7 separate regions of the Homo sapiens genome follow, and regions 1, 2, 3, 4, 5 and 7 are each linked to region 6. Evidence: promoter capture Hi-C in 16 types of primary human blood cells and fetal thymus (Javierre and others, 2016). All regions are on one chromosome and are shown on one strand. The core of a region is centred on a gene start or on the middle of the fragment in contact, and the rest is flanking DNA. Distances in the headings are between cores, read along the strand shown.

Region 1 (2,700 bases), core at 1-2,500, 3.6 Mb after region 6:
AGTCATAACTCCTTTGAGAATTTGGTGAAAGCTATTGACTTTGCCCCCAGAAAGTTCATGTACTTATCATGTAACTTATCCTCATAGGTAGTGTTTCTTAATCTCAGCACCGTTGAAATTTGGGCTGGATGATTCTTTATTATGGGGCTCTGTGAGACCTGGGGATTGTAGGATGTTTAGCAACATCCCTGTCTCCTACCTGCTTATCCAAGTAGCACCTCATCTCCAGTTGTGACAACTAAAAATGTCTCCAGACATTGTGAAATGTTCTCAGGGGGTCAAAGTCTCCCCTGATTCAGAACCACTGCCTAGAGGATATGGCATAATGGTAACTTTATGTGATGGTTAGGGAATTTGAAAAAAAAAAAAAAAAAAAGAAACAAGGAATGGATAAGATTCAACATCTGTGAAGTGACACTCAGTAAATGAAAGGCGGATGAATTAGCATTACTACCAGCTGGTGTCCTACTTATGTTATAGAAATGTGACAGCAAATGTGATATGAACTCCTTAGAAGCATTTTTATACACATTGCTGGCTTTAATTGTGAATGCTACAGTAACTCTCCTGACTGTTTTTCTTCTTCTGCCTTTAGACAATTACCCAAGGTTAAGATGCAATAAACATGTGCCTATTTTCTATCCAAAATCTCAATCAGATTAAAATGCTTCTCTAAAGACCTGAAAGGCTTATTTGTTTATTTGTATTCATGTAGGATTTGGGGGGATGAAAGAATTGGTGATTAATCAACATATTATTTTCCCAATAAACAGACTATTCTGACAAATGTTTAGTGGCAAATAATAGCAACAGCAATAATGGCAACAATAAACTTAGAACAGAAATGGATTTATTTTTATTTATTTATTTTTTACCAGCTCTTTCTCTTTCACTCGCTTCTGCATGTTGAGATTTCTCACACATGCAACCTAGATCTTCTTGTCTTCTTTATATTCTTTCTCCAAAGGAATCTCATTCACTGTTGTGCCTTTAAATAGCAAGCTTCAGGTGACCCCCACATTTCTATCTCCAAATTGACATATCCAAATGCCTACTACTCATCTCCCCTCTGATGTCTTATAGACATTCACATTTAATAGCATATTGTATTGAGTCTAAGGAGCCATTAATTGTAAGTCACATTTATGTCCACTAAGATTAAAAAATACTGCCAACTGAACTATGACAAAATGCTGATATCCTTGATTCTAAGATACATCTTGATTTCAGAGACTTTAAAAATAGGCTTAAAAAATAATGTGATTTACTAGAATAGCACCAAAAAGAATAAAATACTTAGGAATTAACTTACCAAGAGAAGTGCAAAACTTGTATTCTAAACTCTAAATAACATTGTTGAAAGAAATTAAAGACCTAAATAAATGGAAAGGTATCTTATGTTCATGGATCAGAACACTTTGTAAAGATGGCAGTAATTCCCAAGTTGATCCACAGATTCGGTGCAACCCCTATCAAAATCCTGTCTGGTATCTTTACATAAGCTTATTCTAAAATTTATATGGAAATTCAAGGAGCCCAGAATAGCCAAAACAACCTTGAAAAAAGAATAAAATTGGAAGATTCACATTTCCCAATTTAAAAACTTATTACAAAGCTATAGTAATTAAAACAGTGTGGTACTGGAATAAGATTAGACATATAAATCAATGAGGTAGGATTGAGAGTCTAAAAATAAACCTTCATATGTATAGTCAATTGATTTTCAACACAGGCACCAAACAAATTCAATGGGGCAAGGAGTCTTCAGCAAATATTACTGGGATAGCTAGATATCCACATGTAAAAGAATAAAGTTGAATCCTATCCTCATACCATATACAAAAATTAACTCAAAATGGATAGAAGACCTAAATGTAAGTGCTAAAACATAAAAGTCCTAGGAGAAAACATAGGAGTAAATATGTATGACCACGGGTTAAAAAAGCTTTTTTTTTTTTTTTTTTTTTTTTTTGAGACAGAGCCTTGCTTTGTCGCCATGCTGGGGTGCAGTGGCGCAATCTTGGCTCACTGCAACCTCCACCTCCCGGGTTCAAGAGATTCTCCTGCCTCAGCCTCCCGAGTAGCTGGGACTACAGGCACACGCCACCATGCCCAGCTAATTTTTGTATTTTTAGTAGAGATGGGGTTTCACCATGTTGGCCAGGATGGTCTTGATCTGTTGACCTCGTGATTCACCTCAGGTGATCCACCTGCATCAGCCTCCCAAAGTGCTGGGATTATAGGCATGAGCCACTGTGCCAGGCCAAAAAAGGCTTTTTAAGGTATGACATCAAAAGCATTAGTGACAAAAGAAAAAAAACAGATAAATTGAACTTCATCAAAATTAAGATACTTTGTGCTTCAAAAGATGCCATTAAAAAAAAAAAAGACCACCTACAGAATGGGAGAATATGTTTGCAAATTATATATCTGATAAATGACTTCTATCTAGAATATATAAAGAATGCTTACAACTTCATACTAAGAAAGCAAATACCCAATTAAAAAATAGGTGACGGATCTGATTAGCTACTTCTCCAAACAAGATGCCCAAATGGCTAATAAGCACATGAAAAAATGCTCACCATTCTTAGTCATCAAAGAATGCAAATCAAAATATGAGATAGTATTATACTTCACACGCACTGGGATGGCTGTAATCGAAAAGACAGATGATAACAAGTATTGGAGAGGAGGTGA
Region 2 (2,865 bases), core at 155-2,654, 3.3 Mb after region 6:
ATAATTTAAAATATTTTTACTAATCATTAATAATGATTCAATAACTTTTTCTAGTAGAAATATCAGTTCTGCTACATTTTATTCTTCCATCTCACAGAAAGGGCAGAAGGAATTTTATGCAATATGTTTCCAGAGTCGATGTGACCTATTTGAAAAAGATGGTAGGAAAAAGAAGCCTATTATCGGTAAATATCAAATTTTCCCAAGCAGAAAAAGAAAAAGCTAGGGAAATTTTGCAGTGCTGCTGACCTAATTCTATGCTCTTTCTCTAAAGAAGCCTTTCTGCTTGTTTAACAAATATTTGAGCATCTATTACACGTTGAGTATGCAAAGATCACTAAGTCTTACTCCTGAAAAGACCAAGGCTGGAAGCAAAAGCTTGTTTAGAATTCTCTTCAAAGCCATTTGTATAGTAAAGAAATTAAACTCTCATTTATCCAAACTTTCAAAGTGTAAATACCATTAAAACTTTTTGGGAAGCCAGTGCTATTCTGGAGGGTAACGATGTGGGTAGGGACCAGAGTGAACTTCCTTAATAATCATAACAAGAAGAAACTATTTATATGAAGAGATTATCTTGTTATCCTCATCTACTGGTTCTATGCAAACAAAGTTTCTTCATAAGGAAACTAAAGGGAAGCATAGTCAAAACTGCTACAAGTTGGGCTGGACGTGGTGGCTCACTCCTGTAATCCCAGCACTTTGGGAGGCCAAGGCGAGTGGATCACCTGAGGTCAAGAGTTAGACGTGACCTGGTCACCAGCCTGGCCGACAAGGTGAAACCCCATCTTTACTAAAAGTACAAAAATTAGCTGGGCGTGCTGGTGCACGCCCAGTAATCCCAGCTACTCGGGAGGTCAAGGCAGAAGAATTGCTTGAACACGGGAGGCGGAAGTTGCAGTGAGCTGAGATGGTGCCATTGCACTCCAGCCTGGGTGACAAGAGCAAAACTCAGTCTCAAAACAAACAAACAAACAAACATACACAAAAAACAAACCTGCTACAAGTCTTTTCCTTGGAAAAGACTCACAATGACAGGAACTTTTATACTTTGTATATGGAAAACATGCACATACCTACCTGGTATTGCAAATAAGCGTGTTAGTAAAAGGTAAATGTTACATTCCTTTTTATTCCTAAAATTGACTTTTGTCTTAAGGGAAATGTTAATGTGTAACACACCCTTTGAAGCCAAAATAAAAACTTTTCGATCAGGTGTAATAATTGGGAAAAACACTCCAGACTGAACAAAACTGAATTACACATACACAGATATTAGTTAGTAAGGTGAGCAAAAAAAAAAAACAAAAAAAACAAAAAAACCCAATACATTTTTTATTATAGAAAAAAAAAATCACATTTTCAAAATTTAAATATTTGGCCGGGCGCGGTGGCTCAAGCCTGTAATCCCAGCACTTTGGGAGGCTGAGGAGGGCGGATCACGAGGTCAGGAGATCGAGACCATCCTGGCTAACATGGTGAAACCCCGTCTCTACTAAAAATACAAAAAAATTAGCCGGGCGCAGTGGCAGGCGCCTGTAGTCTCAGCTATTCGGGAGGCTGAGGCAGGAGAATGGCGTGAACCCGGGAGGCGGAGCTTGCAGTGAGCCGAGATCGCGCCACTGCACTCCAGCCTGGGCAACAGAGCAAGACTCCGTCTCAAAAAAAAAAAAAAACAAAAAACAAAATTTAAATATTCTTATTACCTTAGCAAAATCACAAAACAGACATTTGTCACTTGGCCCCAATAAAAGCAAGATATTCCTTTTTTCAACTTAGATACAAATAGTAGCTATCATTCTAAAGGTTTCAATAAGCAAAGAACAAAAAAATGCCCCAAGACAGATGCCTCATTGAGTTTGTGGCTGTGAACCCAAATAAGCATGTTTAAAAAATCACTATTCTTTAAAAAGACAGTGTCAAGTAAGTATCATTTGAGAAAATTACAGTTTAGGAACTGATGCTATTCCATTAGTAAATACAAATGTAAAGAAATGATAGTATCATCACAACTTTAACAAAAACCCCAAACCCACAACCACATCAGACATTATCCTATTGCTCATTATAGCACTTCTTCCATAAACAAGGTTCATATAGTAAGTAACAAACCTGGATTTCCATACTGAGTTCCAGATTCAGTAATCTGTCCAGAAAAATCGAGATGCTGCCCCTCTTTGTATATCAGAGCCCTTCCATACTGGTTAAGTGTAACCATTTAGTAAAACCACTTTAAATATTATTCCAAAAACTGCCAGCTTGGTTGGATTCTCTACTGGTTTATCCTCAAATTTAAACTATTCTTGATCAAAAAGCCCTACTTTATATGACAGATTAAAATTAACCAAAATGTAGTTTAATTCTTTTAAGCGCAGTGCTTCAACACAGTAAGTACTGAATACTTAAAATACTCGATTCAAACTGGAAAATCAAGCTTGAGTTGTTCATAACCTTTCATCATGGTTGTGAGTGTTCAAAATTTACCTTCAAGAATTCAATGCAGGAAGAGGTTTCATAGTTGTGACGCCAGAGTTTTCTGCATGGTTGACTCATTACATTAACATTATAGCGGCTAATCCTGAGAAGAGTACTATTTCTACAATGAGTATCCTATTACATCTCTCTTACCTAAAGTATGTAAAATTCCTTTATCCACAGATGTACATTTAAGATAACCAGCTATAGAGCTACTACAAATATTCTAACCATAAGTAAAACAGTAACACAATTAGTTTATATTTTCAATTAATATAAAATACAATACTAAAGTCTGTTATTTTTAACAAAACTGAACTGTTTCATAATCATTGTTGCAATTATTTTACATACACGTATCTATAATTGTCTTAACATCTTTTTAGTCAT
Region 3 (2,715 bases), core at 72-2,571, 3.9 Mb before region 6:
TTTATATAGGGTCTCTGACATCCAGGCTGGAGTGCAGTGGCACGATCATAGCTTATTGCAGCCTTTGGGCTCATTGACCTCCTGGGCTTAAGTGGTTCTCCCGCCTCAGCCTTCCAAGCAACCGGGACCATAGGCATGTGCCACCCACCCAGCTAATTAAAATAAATTTTATTTGTAGAGGTGGAGTCTCACTATGTTGCCCAGGCTGGTCTTGAATTCCTGGGCTCAGACAATCCTTCCACTGTGGCCTCCCAAAATGTTAGGATTAGAGGTGTGAGCCACAGCACCAGGCTTAGATTCCTTTATTCACAAAAGGTGTAAAGGTGATCTCATTTTATATACATGTCAACTAAAGAAAAAAATCAGGCTTTTAAAGACTCAAAGTTAGTTTTATTCGGAGTCTTACTGAGGAATGCAACCCTGGAGAGTCTTTCAAAGAGTTTATGTTATACTGGTCCAAAGCAGCTGTTCTGCCCCCAGTTTCTACATCAAGGGATGGAGTTCTGCATGTGCTCAAAAGTTACATTAAACGTGCTCAGAAGTTACGTTGGAGCAAAATCTCATCAAAGTTTTGTTTGGAGACTACATCTGGTTATAGATTACAGAGGCATAATCATTAATCCTGTCACACGTTATCTTACGTACAGGAAGAGGCAAGAGCTAGGATCGCTGACTGTATCTTTTTAAAAAATGAAGTGATTCAAGCAACAGATGTGAAAACTTGTGCTCTATCCTACTTATTGTCTTCAGGGCATTCTTCTGGAGGACTGCGTTCAGTCACTGAGTCAGGGGCTTTGTGAAATTTCGCTGGCAACAGAATGAGCAAACATGGTTTCTTCCGTTTCGTACTTTGTCTCGCATACATGATTTCCTATGCTCAAACCTGGCAGGAAAGTTTTTTTATTTTTTCAGTCTTTGAGCTATAGTAATCCTTCACTGGGTTTTAAGTCAGTGGGGTTTTTTGACATCAAATTGTTAAACTACAAGTCATGTTTCCTTTAACGTGAAAATTACCTAGTCTGAATAAATTCTGATGTAACTATAACTCGACAAATTATGATATTTTCAACTTACGATGGGTTTATTGCGGGGAGGGGGCAGCCCTATCGTAAGTAGAGGAACTCTATACACGTTTGAAAATATCGCTGGGCTCCAGGGTTAACCGGTCTCTAACCCATTCTTTACTGGACCTGCCAACTTCGCGCAGGGTTGGTAACCTAGCAACCAAGCAACACGAGCAGTGACTTCCGGTACCCGGACTTGGGTTGTCCAATCAGCTCAGCGAAGCCGCCGCAGAGGCTGATGGGGGGCTGGAGGCTGTGAGGCTTCCAGCGTCGGTACCATGGCGACGCGCGGTGGGGCTGGGGTGGCAATGGCGGTTTGGTCCCTCTTATCCGCCCGGGCCGTGACCGCGTTCCTTCTGTTGTTCCTCCCTCGCTTCTTACAGGCCCAGACCTTCTCTTTCCCTTTCCAGCAGCCGGAGAAGTGCGACAACAACCAGTACTTTGATATCTCCGCCCTCTCGTGTGTTCCTTGTGGAGCTAACCAGAGGCAAGATGCCCGAGGTAAGACGGTTTGCGGTGGGCCCTGGCAAAAGTAACACTCCCGCCTTGGTCGGCCCCTAGTCCCCGTAAATGGAGTTTCACCATGTTGATCAGGCTAGTCTCGAACTTCTGACCTCAGGTGATCCACCCGCCTCCGCCTCCCAAAGTGCTGGGATTACAGGCGTGAGCCACCGCGCCTGGCCCGAATACATGTATATTGTTTAGTGACGTAGAAATGTAAAATTTCCAGCAGCAGTTAAGTAGTTTAATAGTTTAGTTATACTTGCACTTAAAATGGTAGCAGCATAATACCAGCTGTGTGCCAGTGTAAGACCTCTACGTATAATAACTAATTTTGTACTCATACTAACCCTGTGAGGTAGGTACCAATTTTTTTTCTCCATTTTATTGTAGAGGAAGCCAAGGCAGAGAGTTTAGTAACTTGTTCAAGGTCATGCAACTGAGTAGGATTACTACGATTGGAACTCAAGAAGTGTATTTCTGGATTTGAACCCAGGCAGTACTGCCTCCAGAATCCTGCTGTTAATCACTATACTGCTTCTCAAGATCTTCAGACTTATTAAAAGTTTCACTATCTGGGAACTTTATTTTTATTTATCAAGGATAAAATTGGCTTTTTTTTTTTTTTTTTTTTTTTTAGGAACTTCATGTGTATGTCTACCAGGATTTCAGATGATCTCTAATAATGGAGGACCTGCTATTATTTGTAAAAAGTGCCCAGAAAACATGGTGCGCATAATTTATTTTAAAATAACTTACCTGTAAAAAGTAGTAAGTTAAATATCTTTATTTTTCAAAATATAATTTAATGTTTAATGTTTCCCCACAGACTTTAAAATTACTATGCTAATTTTATTTTTACTAGAGTAAGTTTTGGGAGATCAGCGAAATTTCATGCAAACTTGGAGAAAACAGAAATGTATTTCTTTTAAAATCTGAAATCCAAAAACCACAAAGCTGTAAAAATTTAAGTTTTTGTTTTTACTCGTAGAATAACTCGGTTATGAAGAAAATTAGATGAATAAGGCATATATAGAGCAGTCTGGGATGTGTGCAATTTGGGATGTGTATATTCTTTTGACTGATGCAAGTGGAGTTGTCTTAGACCTACCATGTCAACAGTTTATATGATTATTGATGTTCATAATGA
Region 4 (2,700 bases), core at 127-2,626, 3.9 Mb before region 6:
TTTGAAGTACCTTAGCCCAAACTAAGCTTAATAATTACCTGGTTCCTGCTTTCTTCAACATTTATAAATGAAAACAAGATACAAGTTCACAAAAATACTGATCATATCTAATTATTAAAGAAAACAAGGGATAAACTTTCTCCCATCTAAAAATACAAATAAACCAACTACCTTGAAGAAACATTTCGTATCACCTATTCTATACAATAGGAACATCAAAAATATCAAATCTTCCTTTGTAAGTCTGCCAAATGCTGCTTCACAAGACCAAACTACTTTCAGACTCATTTAGAATCTTATCTTCTACTGAAACATGAGAGCTTTGTAGATTATTTTATCAACTGCAATGAATTTTACATATTTAGAAAAGTCATCTATGGTTAGTATATAATTTCTGCTCATGATAATAAATTGCCTACCACTGGCCAGACACAGAGAACAAAAGCCAGGGCCAGCATGATAGCTCATGCCTGTAATTCCAGGCTTTGCAAGGCCAAGGCAAGAGGATCGCTTGAGGCCAGGAGTTCAAGACCAGCCTTGGCAACAGAGCGAGAGCCCGTCTCTAAAAAGAAAAAATTAGCCGGGCATGGTGGCATGCACCTGTAGTCCCAGCTACTCAGGAGGCTGAGGCAGGAAGACTGCCTGAGCCCAATTTGAAATTTTCAGGATACAATGGGCTGCAACTGTGCCATTGCACTCCAGCCTGGAGGACAGAGTGAGGCCCTGTCTTTTTAAAAAAAAAAGAACAGAAGCCATGGATACCTAGATGTACTATTCTACTTCACATGTTTTTTGTTGAGCCTCAAAGCCTTAAACTCTGGATATCTTACCTTTTTTAAAATTTCTTGGAGACCTGTTAACTCTGTAAAAGCAACTTAACTGTGGAAAGAAAATGAAATATAATTAATCCTTGAACCCTGTAATTTATCTTAAACAACGCCAGAGTAGGATATCCATTTCAGAATTACCTATCAAAAGTGAAGCAGAATAAGGAACCACAATTACGGGTGTTACAAAATGGTCTTTTGTTCCAAGGGGAAATTAATCATCCTTCTGCAAAAAGGAGATACAATATCCAAATAGACATATAAAAATTATTTAAAAATTTGAAACTTGCCGAAAATTTAACAACTGCTCTTGATTGGAAGTAGCACGAAGAAAGGAGTGATGGAAATGTTACATATTTTGAATGCAGCAGTAGTTACATGGGTGTATAAATTTATCAAGGTTTACTGAATTCTATCCTTAGGGTCTATACATTTTGCTGTACACAAGTTTTACATCTACTTCAAAAAACTGTTCTACAAGTAAAATCTCAATACCCAAAGTTCAAAAAAAAAAAAAAAAAAAAAAGAACTTCAATCATTTTGCCACATGAAAATCCAAAAATCTAGTACATATTTATATCCAACTCTCGTGCTGTTCTCCTCCCTTTCAAAACATAAGACCAAATCAAATTAAGGCAACCATTCAAAATTACACAATAAATGAATAAAACAGCAAAGCCTGAAATTCAAAAATCAATTTTTAAAACAATAAATCCAAACCTATGGGCTATTGTTTGGATACAATTTAAAGGTCTATATAAACAGCTCATACATCCAAGCACAGAACCAAATTTCATGAAGCCAGTATAATTAAGGCAAATACTACAATATCCCTAAAGTTAAAAATCTCAATACCACTCCTATTGCAAAAATAGTAACTGTTACAATTCATCTCAAGCCAAACAGAAAATGCTATTTATCTTATTAATAATGCCAATAGCAGATTTCCATTTCAAACAACTATTCTGCACTCTACTAAGGAAACCCAAATGATGATGTAGAAAAGTAAAATTAAAAATTAACTTGGAATACTGGGATTACCCGTTTACTGAAAAATCTCAATGTAATTTTTTAAAGAAGTTTGCGTTTAATACTTTCAGGGATACCCAAACTATTTCATGAAGACTTGCCAAATAAATAATTATAATTTACACTCACTTTCTTTGGTGGGGGAGACAGGGTCTCTCTTGCTCTGCTACCCAGGCTGGAGTGCACTGGTGCGATCTTGGCTCACTACAGCCTCGACTTACCCAGGCTCAGGCAATGCTCCCACCTCAGCCTCCCCAGTAGCTGGGACTACAGGTGTGCACCACCACACCCGGCTAATTTTTGTATTTTTTGTAGAGCCAGGGTTTCACCATGTTGCCCAGGCTGGTAGGGAACTCATGGGCTCAAGCAATCAGCTCACCTCAGCCTCCCACAGTGCTAGGATTTACAGGTATGAGCCACTGCGCCTGGAGTAATTTACATGTCTTTAATGTACAAATAAATGTTGCGTTAATCCAGAATCCAGTACTTACACTTAAGTACCACTGTTCCCCAAAGTGGGGGTCTGAAGATACATTCACTGAGGTCTGTTTTCCTTTAAAAAAGGGTACGTAGATTAACCAGAAGCTAAACTAGCAAAGACATCAAATTACTTCACACATTCTACATCTGAAAAATATTAATCAGGTTTGCTATTAAAGTATTTGCACAGTAACAAAAAAAGAAAAAAAGCCTATTTTCTTCAACAAACCAATATCCATACTAACACTTCAACAAAAACTACAAATGGCTTCTGGAATACTTACTTTATCCATATTAAAGTCCCAAGACTCCCTCCTATGCAAATTGGCTTAGCTACTCTTTTTAAGATATTTTAGAAAGCACC
Region 5 (2,700 bases), core at 84-2,583, 3.7 Mb before region 6:
TATTTAATTATGTAGAAATTTTTCTATATATGTTACAATGCATATTACTGTAGTCATATATGTATATGATGTACACGTAATTCATAAATACACATATGTTTGGCTGCCTCTTAACATTTTTGGTCATAGCCATGTGTAATCATGCCAAAAATTGACCACAGGTCTATGTAAAGGGTCTTCATAAATGGAAGAAGTCCCTGTGTAAAATGGGAGATTTCAAGGCATTTTTTAAGAATAGGGAGGGAGAAGGATGATTGGTCAGGTAGACGGCTACTGCATAATGTTATATAACCTTCATCTCCTCAGCTTTCCCCAGCCAAATCTGTTGTACATTCTGCACAGTTTGTACTGCACAAAGGACGACAAAGAAAAGAGAAAATTGAAGTTTGAGTATAGGAGCCAGGAGTTCAGTCGTGGTTCCACGAATGATTGGGAGTTGTGCCTGCCAGAATATACCCTGTAGAAATAGTACATGATGTGTGTATAAAATGTAGTACCTTCTAGCAAAGGCTTAACATGTAGATTGACTTGCTTAATATTTGTTATAAAGGCAAAGCTAGATTAAGTATCCTGAAATGTAACTCTTTCCTTTGTGTACATCTGTCTAATTTGCTGTCTAGGAATCCCAGTCAGAAGTTCCAGCCTGCCACTGTTCTCTGATGCCATGCCAGCACCAACTCAACTGTTTTTTCCTCTCATCCGTAACTGTGAACTGAGCAGGATCTATGGCACTGCATGTTACTGCCACCACAAACATCTCTGTTGTTCCTCATCGTACATTCCTCAGAGTCGACTGAGATACACACCTCATCCAGCATATGCTACCTTTTGCAGGCCAAAGGAGAACTGGTGGCAGTACACCCAAGGAAGGAGATATGCTTCCACACCACAGAAATTTTACCTCACACCTCCACAAGTCAATAGCATCCTTAAAGCTAATGAATACAGTTTCAAAGTGCCAGAATTTGACGGCAAAAATGTCAGTTCTATCCTTGGATTTGACAGCAATCAGCTGCCTGCAAATGCACCCATTGAGGACCGGAGAAGTGCAGCAACCTGCTTGCAGACCAGAGGGATGCTTTTGGGGGTTTTTGATGGCCATGCAGGTTGTGCTTGTTCCCAGGCAGTCAGTGAAAGACTCTTTTATTATATTGCTGTCTCTTTGTTACCCCATGAGACTTTGCTAGAGATTGAAAATGCAGTGGAGAGCGGCCGGGCACTGCTACCCATTCTCCAGTGGCACAAGCACCCCAATGATTACTTTAGTAAGGAGGCATCCAAATTGTACTTTAACAGCTTGAGGACTTACTGGCAAGAGCTTATAGACCTCAACACTGGTGAGTCGACTGATATTGATGTTAAGGAGGCTCTAATTAATGCCTTCAAGAGGCTTGATAATGACATCTCCTTGGAGGCGCAAGTTGGTGATCCTAATTCTTTTCTCAACTACCTGGTGCTTCGAGTGGCATTTTCTGGAGCCACTGCTTGTGTGGCCCATGTGGATGGTGTTGACCTTCATGTGGCCAATACTGGCGATAGCAGAGCCATGCTGGGTGTGCAGGAAGAGGACGGCTCATGGTCAGCAGTCACGCTGTCTAATGACCACAATGCTCAAAATGAAAGAGAACTAGAACGGCTGAAATTGGAACATCCAAAGAGTGAGGCCAAGAGTGTCGTGAAACAGGATCGGCTGCTTGGCTTGCTGATGCCATTTAGGGCATTTGGAGATGTAAAGTTCAAATGGAGCATTGACCTTCAAAAGAGAGTGATAGAATCTGGCCCAGACCAGTTGAATGACAATGAATATACCAAGTTTATTCCTCCTAATTATCACACACCTCCTTATCTCACTGCTGAGCCAGAGGTAACTTACCACCGATTAAGGCCACAGGATAAGTTTCTGGTGTTGGCTACTGATGGGTTGTGGGAGACTATGCATAGGCAGGATGTGGTTAGGATTGTGGGTGAGTACCTAACTGGCATGCATCACCAACAGCCAATAGCTGTTGGTGGCTACAAGGTGACTCTGGGACAGATGCATGGCCTTTTAACAGAAAGGAGAACCAAAATGTCCTCGGTATTTGAGGATCAGAACGCAGCAACCCATCTCATTCGCCACGCTGTGGGCAACAACGAGTTTGGGACTGTTGATCATGAGCGCCTCTCTAAAATGCTTAGTCTTCCTGAAGAGCTTGCTCGAATGTACAGAGATGACATTACAATCATTGTAGTTCAGTTCAATTCTCATGTTGTAGGGGCGTATCAAAACCAAGAATAGTGAGTGGCTCTTTCACTGGCAATTCTCAAATGATATACATTTAAAGGGCAGATTTTTTAAAAAGATACTACTATAATAAACATTTCCAGTTGGTCATTCTAAGCATTTACCCTTTTGATACTCTAGCTAGTCAGGTACTCCAAATTGACTTTGCAGCAGGGTGGCAGGGTCAGGAGAGTCTGGTCCTGCCTAGCTCAGATTTCATGGCACCTGCACTTGAAGCAAGTCACTTCTTTATCACAGGTGTCTTGAAACATTAGCTTCTTTTACCAACCTGAGAAAATTAGGATGACCTGGCAAATAAGATCTTGAATAGGCCAAAAGCAAGTATCTTGCTGTGTGTAGTCTCTTGGTTAAAGTGAAGAAACAGTACTGTTCACACCTTTCTTCACTGAGATTCCAGTGTACATGAGAACATATAT
Region 6 (2,753 bases), core at 78-2,577:
AAAGCCTGTATTTAGTTCACTTAAGACAGTTGCTTACACGCTAATGATCATTTACCGATAAAATACAGAGTTTCCTTATAGCAAAATATAATCTTAAAACCCTAAGGCAGCCTTCAAGCATTTCCCTTATAATTAAAACCTGAAGGCCTGGCGTGGTGGCTCACGCCTGTAATCCCAGCACTTTGGGAGGCTGAGGTGGGCGGATCACGAGGTCAGGAGATCAAGACCATCCTGGCTAACACGGTGAAACCCCGTCTCTACTAAAAATACAAAAAATTAGCCGGGCGTGGTGGTGGGTGCCTATAGTCCCAGCTGCTCGGGAGGCTGAGGCAGGAGAATGGCTTGAACCCAGGAGGCGGACCTTGCAGTGAGCGGAGATAGTGCCACTGCACTCCAGCCCGGGCGACAGAGCGAGACTCTTGTCTCAAAAAAAAAAAATTTGAAAAGGCAGTTCGTTTCCTTCTATAGCTGCATCCCAGAGATGGTCAACATAGCATATAAAAATGGAATTTTTGCAAACCCCTTTTGCAGTGTTGTAGAAAAGCTTAAAATAAAACGTAACGAGAAAGCTCCCTCCATAAGTAAATACAATCTAATGTGCTTCCCCTTATGTGTTATTAAAGCTACAAATTAGTAGGAAAAGAATAGTGCCGCCCACGGGCTTTCCAACTTTTGAATTCTGGGGACTAACAACAGAGAGCAAGAGTGAATGAGCCAAACGACGCAAACGTGCCCTCGCCAGGCTGGCAACTGGTAGGCACGCAGTGTATTAGTTGCCCTGGAGAGAAACACCCTGGAGAGAAATACCCAATTTGTGAACTAAACCTAGGTCCCGGAAGAACAGTGTTCGGCGTCAGACTCCGTTGAGCTCATTCTGGAAGGATCCAACTGGCGCCACCAGGGAGAAAAAGCGATTCCACCTCAATAACACTCCAGAAAAAGGCATGAAGAGCCCTATACCTGCCAGGGCGACTTTGACCTAGACCCGGTGACCCGGTTCCTAGCGCTGCAGCCCTACCCGCCCCCCGCCCGCCCCCGCCTTGCACGGAGCCCCTCCTCTGTACTCATTCGTTGCGCCACGTCTCCTAACTCTGCGCCACCAGCCACCCCGCGAAGGCGTCCACCAATTAACCCCTCCCAGCTTCTGGTCTACAGTAACGGGTCCCCAACGCCGCGTCTTAACCAGGCCCGAACCGACCACCGCCAACCTTCCCTGACACGCCTTTGCCCCACCCGACCCCGCCCGCCCCCACGTGACGCCCACGCCCCGCCCACTGGCGCCCACGTGACCCACGGTCGTCCCCGCGCGCGGCGTGGATCGCGGCCCAAGCCGCCATTGTTCCGCCGAGGGAGGACAGCGGGGCCTGGCGCTGGCGCCGAGACGCCGCTTAGCGGCCGCCACTGGAGACACTCCCTCCCGCCTCCCGGGTCTCCTGGCGGCGGCGGAGTGAGGCTGACAGCGGGGAACCTGGGAGACCCCTCCGCCCTCCCCGCGGTGGCAGCGGCCGATCCCCGGCTCCGGCGCGAGGGACGGCCGCGATGCGCTCGGCCTGAGGTTACCCGGCCCGGCCCTTCCTCGCTTCCCTCGACTATTCCACTGCGTCTCCGCGCCCCGGCGTCATCCTGCGAGTCCCTCTGACGGGAGGGAAGATGGCTGCACGGAGCTGGCAGGACGAGCTGGCCCAGCAGGCCGAGGAGGGCTCGGCCCGGCTGCGGGAAATGCTCTCGGTCGGCCTAGGCTTTCTGCGCACCGAGCTGGGCCTCGACCTGGGGCTGGAGCCGAAACGGTACCCCGGCTGGGTGATCCTGGTGGGCACTGGCGCGCTCGGGCTGCTGCTGCTGTTTCTGCTGGGCTACGGCTGGGCCGCGGCTTGCGCCGGCGCCCGCAAAAAGCGGAGGAGCCCGCCCCGCAAGCGGGAGGAGGCGGCGGCCGTGCCGGCCGCGGCCCCCGACGACCTGGCCTTGCTGAAGAATCTCCGGAGCGAGGAACAGAAGAAGAAGAACCGGAAGAAACTGTCCGAGAAGCCCAAAGTGAGTATGGGATGAGCGGCAGTAGAGAACGGGCGAAGGGCGGGCGTGGAGACCCTCGAGCTTGGGGGAGGCCGCGCCCCAGCCGGGAAGGAAAAGAGTGCTTAGTCGAAAGCCGAGAGGCAGCACTCCCAAGTGGAGGAGGAGGTGATAGGTGGTCATGTTATTTGGGGAATGGGGGGAACTCAGGAAGTATAGGACGAGTGGGGAAGCCCAGTTTCGAGGAAGGAAGTTAGGAGGTCTGGGGGTCCGTTCAGATAGGCGCCCAGAGGTCAAGCCATCTTTGGGAACCGTCACCGCTAGAATAAGCACAGCATCCTTCCTTGAGGCCTGCAGAGTAGGCTGCATGTGGAGCGTAATGGGACCTTAAGGTGGTGTTAGGAAGTTGTATAAAGACTGCGCTCGGAAGACAGATGTCTATCTCAAGTCACATTGAGACAGTAGGCAGTGGAAGAAGTGCGGTGACCTAGAAATTCTGGGGCTTACACAGGATTAAAGGTGTCCAGGTCTAGACGCGCTTCCATTTTAGTTGGGACTGTTAAAGGGAAATGGTTGCCCATTCTTGTTCTGGCAAATGTGGCCAACAGAGGCCGGAACGGGAGCAAGGCAAGAGGGGGTCGGTTACCTAATACGCTTTGAGGTGTATGGTCCTGTGAGAAAGAGCTAAGGCGAGTTCAACGAACGAGTCTGTTGCACACTCTGTGGCGTGGTAGATTTGTGAAATA
Region 7 (2,795 bases), core at 167-2,666, 3.7 Mb before region 6:
ACTTGACAGTAGCAAGGGGTGGAGCAAGTATTTGATGGAGCGGGTCTGACCTCAGAGCCCTTGCTTCACCACACACATGAGAAATGTGTCCAAGCGCATGGTAGAGACAGAAGCCTGTTATTTACTATTGTTGTCTGGCAAGTTTTCAAGGAAATCTTTGATCATTTCTTAAAATGCTTATGTTGGGAGAAACCCAGGACAGATAAACTCCTGTTAGATTACTGCCTCAGAGTTCAGATAGAGGAATCCCTATACTCTTCATAAGAATTTTTTGATTATTTAGTCCTTTTATCATCTTTGTGGTTCTCCTTGAATCGCACTTCAAAGATGACACATTCCAGAAAAGTATGGATATAGTTCAATTCCAGAGAGGCATTTATGTGCAAATCCATGAAAAGCTCTGCTATTGTAGGTGCATTGAATGAAGAACACTGGGCAGTCAGCCTTCATCATGGCCAAGTTAAATATTCTATTACTGCTGACTTGCTTAGACACACGAATCCAATGGCTTGTCCCTTCTCTCCTTCCCTTGCAAAATATCAGAGGGGAAAAAAGACCCATATATACAAAGGTCCTTTTTATTTTTTAGCCTAACACCTAGAAATAAGTAGAAGGTTTACATTCATCAGGCCTAATTTTACCTAAACTGTTTAAGATTTTATGCGGAGGGAATCCTTCCCAAACCAGTTTCATTTCCATGTAGGCAACAGCTGCTTTCCACAACTACAGTTCACATTCTCTACCACTGTGGGTACAAGTTTTCTTTCCTACTACTCACCTTGGCCCCCACTCCCCCAGACACATACAAGAAAAGCATCGAAAACCAGTTTTAAAAAGCAAGCATAGGCTAGGTGTGGTGGCTCACGCCTGTAATCCCAGCACTTTGGGAGGCCAAGGCGGGTCTTTGAAATCCAAAAAGTTAGGAGCCGTGTTATAAACGATTACATTTAAGCTGGAGTTGGAAGAGACACACTCCTATATAAAGGAGTTCCTGCAATTTGCTTGTCAGTGGCTTCACCACATCTGAGTTAAGGGGAAATTAATTTGCAAGAAATAAAAAAAAAAAAAAAGCCTGCTTTTTTTTTTTTGAGACAGAGTTTCACTCTTGTTACCCAGGCTGGATTGCAATGGCATGATCTTGGCTCACTGCACCTTCCGTCTCCTTGGTTAGAGCGATTCTCCTCCCTCAGCCTCCTGAGTAGCTGGGATTATACGCACCCACCACCATGCCTGGCTAATTGTTTTGTATTTTTAGTAGAGACAGGGTTTCATCATGTTGGCCAGGCTGGTCTTGAACTCCTGTCCTCAAGTGATCCGCCTACCTTGGCCTCCCAAAGTGCTGGGATTATAAGCGTGAGGCACCATGCCCGGCCAAATTTTTAAAGGCATAAAGACTATGTCTTACGCTTTTCTCCATTTGCAGAACACAGCAAAAACCCTAGAACACAAACATTCAAAGAGTGTTTATCCAATTAGTTTGCATATAACTAAGTCAAATGTAAAGAGAAGTTTCTCTCCCTAGACAAAACTGATCACCTTTTTTGCAAACTGGCATACCACAACAGGCCCTGAAGGGAAGCCCCAAGATGTAAAGAAAGTTATAAGAACATTAAAATACCACAGGCACATAGTAATGGCTCAAGAACTGAAACTGAAATTGAAATTGAGCTAATTAGTAAACACCATTGTTCAGAACAGTCTTGGCTAAGTAATAGGGGTTGTGTTTAAACCTTAAGGGTGACATCCATTTATACATACTTCAAGTGGAAATGGAATTTCCAGATGCAGAATAGAATAAGTGCCATCAAAAGGTAGGGTAATTGCCAGCTGCAACTGAGATCCTCAGTGTTCATTTATCCAGGTCATTTATTCGTGAGTCATGGATTTGTGGAATGAAAACTGAACACTGAGCCAGCAGTTCCCTGAAACTAGGAAAACAATAAGTTCTTATTTCCCTGACAAAATCTGGCTACAGTTCAGCAATGCAGTAAAAAATCCTTATGGATTTTCTCATTACATTGACAATTTCCCCTCATGGGGGGTGGAATCACCAAAAACTTGTATCCTCTATATGCATACATTTCCCATGAACATAAAAAGTACAAGGAATAAAATTATAATCAATCATTTCATACACTACTAAATTCAGAGAATGTAAGCATACATAGTGTTATGTTATTTTTTATTTTTTATTTTTTTTAAGAGATAGAGTCTTGCTCTGTCACCCAGGCTGGAGTACAGTGGTATGATCATAGCTCATTGAAGTTTCAGACTCCTGGACTCAAGGCATCTCCCTACCTTGGCCCCCCAAAGTGCTGGGATTACAGGCATGAACCACTGTACCTGGTCCATTAGCTATTATTTTAACTCCTTAGTGGTATCCAAACATTCAGTTGTTTAGTGTTGACTGGAGGTTCAAATTTGGACTTACTTTTAGTAGTGATTAAACGGAGATGTGAGGCTACACAAAACTTTATGGATGAAACTGTGGCAGCACTGGCAATTGTAACCAGGGTCAGAGGAACAAAACTAGAAACCCAGAACATCAGCACTTGCTGGTGCTTATTTCCCTACTTTTCAAGATGAAAGGAATGGGAACAGCTCTGAGAACCAAACTTGAGGCTCTTCTAATCCAACACTTCTGCAAAAGCAGCATCATGTAGGTTCCGCTATGTCATGTACTCACTGTGGTTGGCAGCCTCCAAGATGGCCTCCAGTGATTTCTGCTGGAATTCATACCCCTGTGGAATGCTTTCTCAAATTTTACCAGGGTACAGAAGTAATTGTATGTCACT

What was found. Contacts are between HindIII fragments. The CHiCAGO score rates a contact against its expected background, and 5 or more counts as called.
Region 1: a contact is called between a fragment that was not itself captured here and the fragment with the promoter of MTDH in region 6, in 1 of 17 cell types (fetal thymus). The highest score is 8.3, in fetal thymus.
Region 2: a fragment that was not itself captured here is called in contact with the fragment with the promoter of MTDH in region 6 in 1 of 17 cell types (fetal thymus); the score reaches 6.7 in fetal thymus.
Region 3: the fragment with the promoter of TMEM67 here is called in contact with the fragment with the promoter of MTDH in region 6 in 1 of 17 cell types (naive CD8 T cells); the score reaches 6.0 in naive CD8 T cells.
Region 4: a fragment that was not itself captured here is called in contact with the fragment with the promoter of MTDH in region 6 in 6 of 17 cell types (total B cells, fetal thymus, naive CD4 T cells and 3 more); the score reaches 11.1 in total B cells.
Region 5: a fragment that was not itself captured here is called in contact with the fragment with the promoter of MTDH in region 6 in 1 of 17 cell types (total CD4 T cells); the score reaches 5.9 in total CD4 T cells.
Region 7: a fragment that was not itself captured here is called in contact with the fragment with the promoter of MTDH in region 6 in 1 of 17 cell types (total B cells); the score reaches 6.6 in total B cells.

What each region holds. Positions count from the first base shown.
Region 1 is chr8:101,207,710-101,210,409 of GRCh38, forward strand. No RefSeq gene overlaps it. Among named protein-coding and RNA genes, the nearest start is that of ZNF706, 3.4 kb to the left of the region's middle. The HindIII fragment of the contact is 500 bases long and covers 1,001-1,500 here.
Region 2 is chr8:100,945,593-100,948,457 of GRCh38, forward strand. The region is part of intron 2 of YWHAZ (tyrosine 3-monooxygenase/tryptophan 5-monooxygenase activation protein zeta); the gene reads right to left. Among named protein-coding and RNA genes, the nearest start is that of YWHAZ, 5.0 kb to the right of the region's middle. The HindIII fragment of the contact is 2,056 bases long and covers 377-2,432 here.
Region 3 is chr8:93,753,573-93,756,287 of GRCh38, forward strand. It overlaps TMEM67 (transmembrane protein 67), which reads left to right and starts at 1,322. Exons shown (of 28, transcript NM_153704.6): 1 at 1,322-1,565; 2 at 2,206-2,294. The coding sequence starts at 1,343. The HindIII fragment of the contact is 4,875 bases long and covers 1-2,715 here.
Region 4 is chr8:93,736,477-93,739,176 of GRCh38, forward strand. RBM12B (RNA binding motif protein 12B) reads right to left here. Exons shown (of 4, transcript NM_001377960.1): 3 at 831-879. Among named protein-coding and RNA genes, the nearest start is that of RBM12B-AS1, 2.3 kb to the right of the region's middle. The HindIII fragment of the contact is 2,705 bases long and covers 25-2,700 here.
Region 5 is chr8:93,921,396-93,924,095 of GRCh38, forward strand. PDP1 (pyruvate dehydrogenase phosphatase catalytic subunit 1) reads left to right here. Exons shown (of 2, transcript NM_018444.4): 2 at 621-2,700. The coding sequence starts at 665. The coding sequence ends at 2,278. Among named protein-coding and RNA genes, the nearest start is that of PDP1, 5.8 kb to the left of the region's middle. The HindIII fragment of the contact is 3,370 bases long and covers 1-2,700 here.
Region 6 is chr8:97,642,857-97,645,609 of GRCh38, forward strand. MTDH (metadherin) reads left to right here and starts at 1,328. Exons shown (of 12, transcript NM_178812.4): 1 at 1,328-2,031. The coding sequence starts at 1,651. RefSeq lists silencers at 916-1,025, 1,206-1,665, 1,936-2,005, 2,289-2,457 and enhancers at 1,178-2,158, 2,159-2,753. The HindIII fragment of the contact is 3,502 bases long and covers 543-2,753 here.
Region 7 is chr8:93,902,756-93,905,550 of GRCh38, forward strand. No RefSeq gene overlaps it. Among named protein-coding and RNA genes, the nearest start is that of MIR378D2, 12 kb to the right of the region's middle. The HindIII fragment of the contact is 5,771 bases long and covers 1-2,795 here.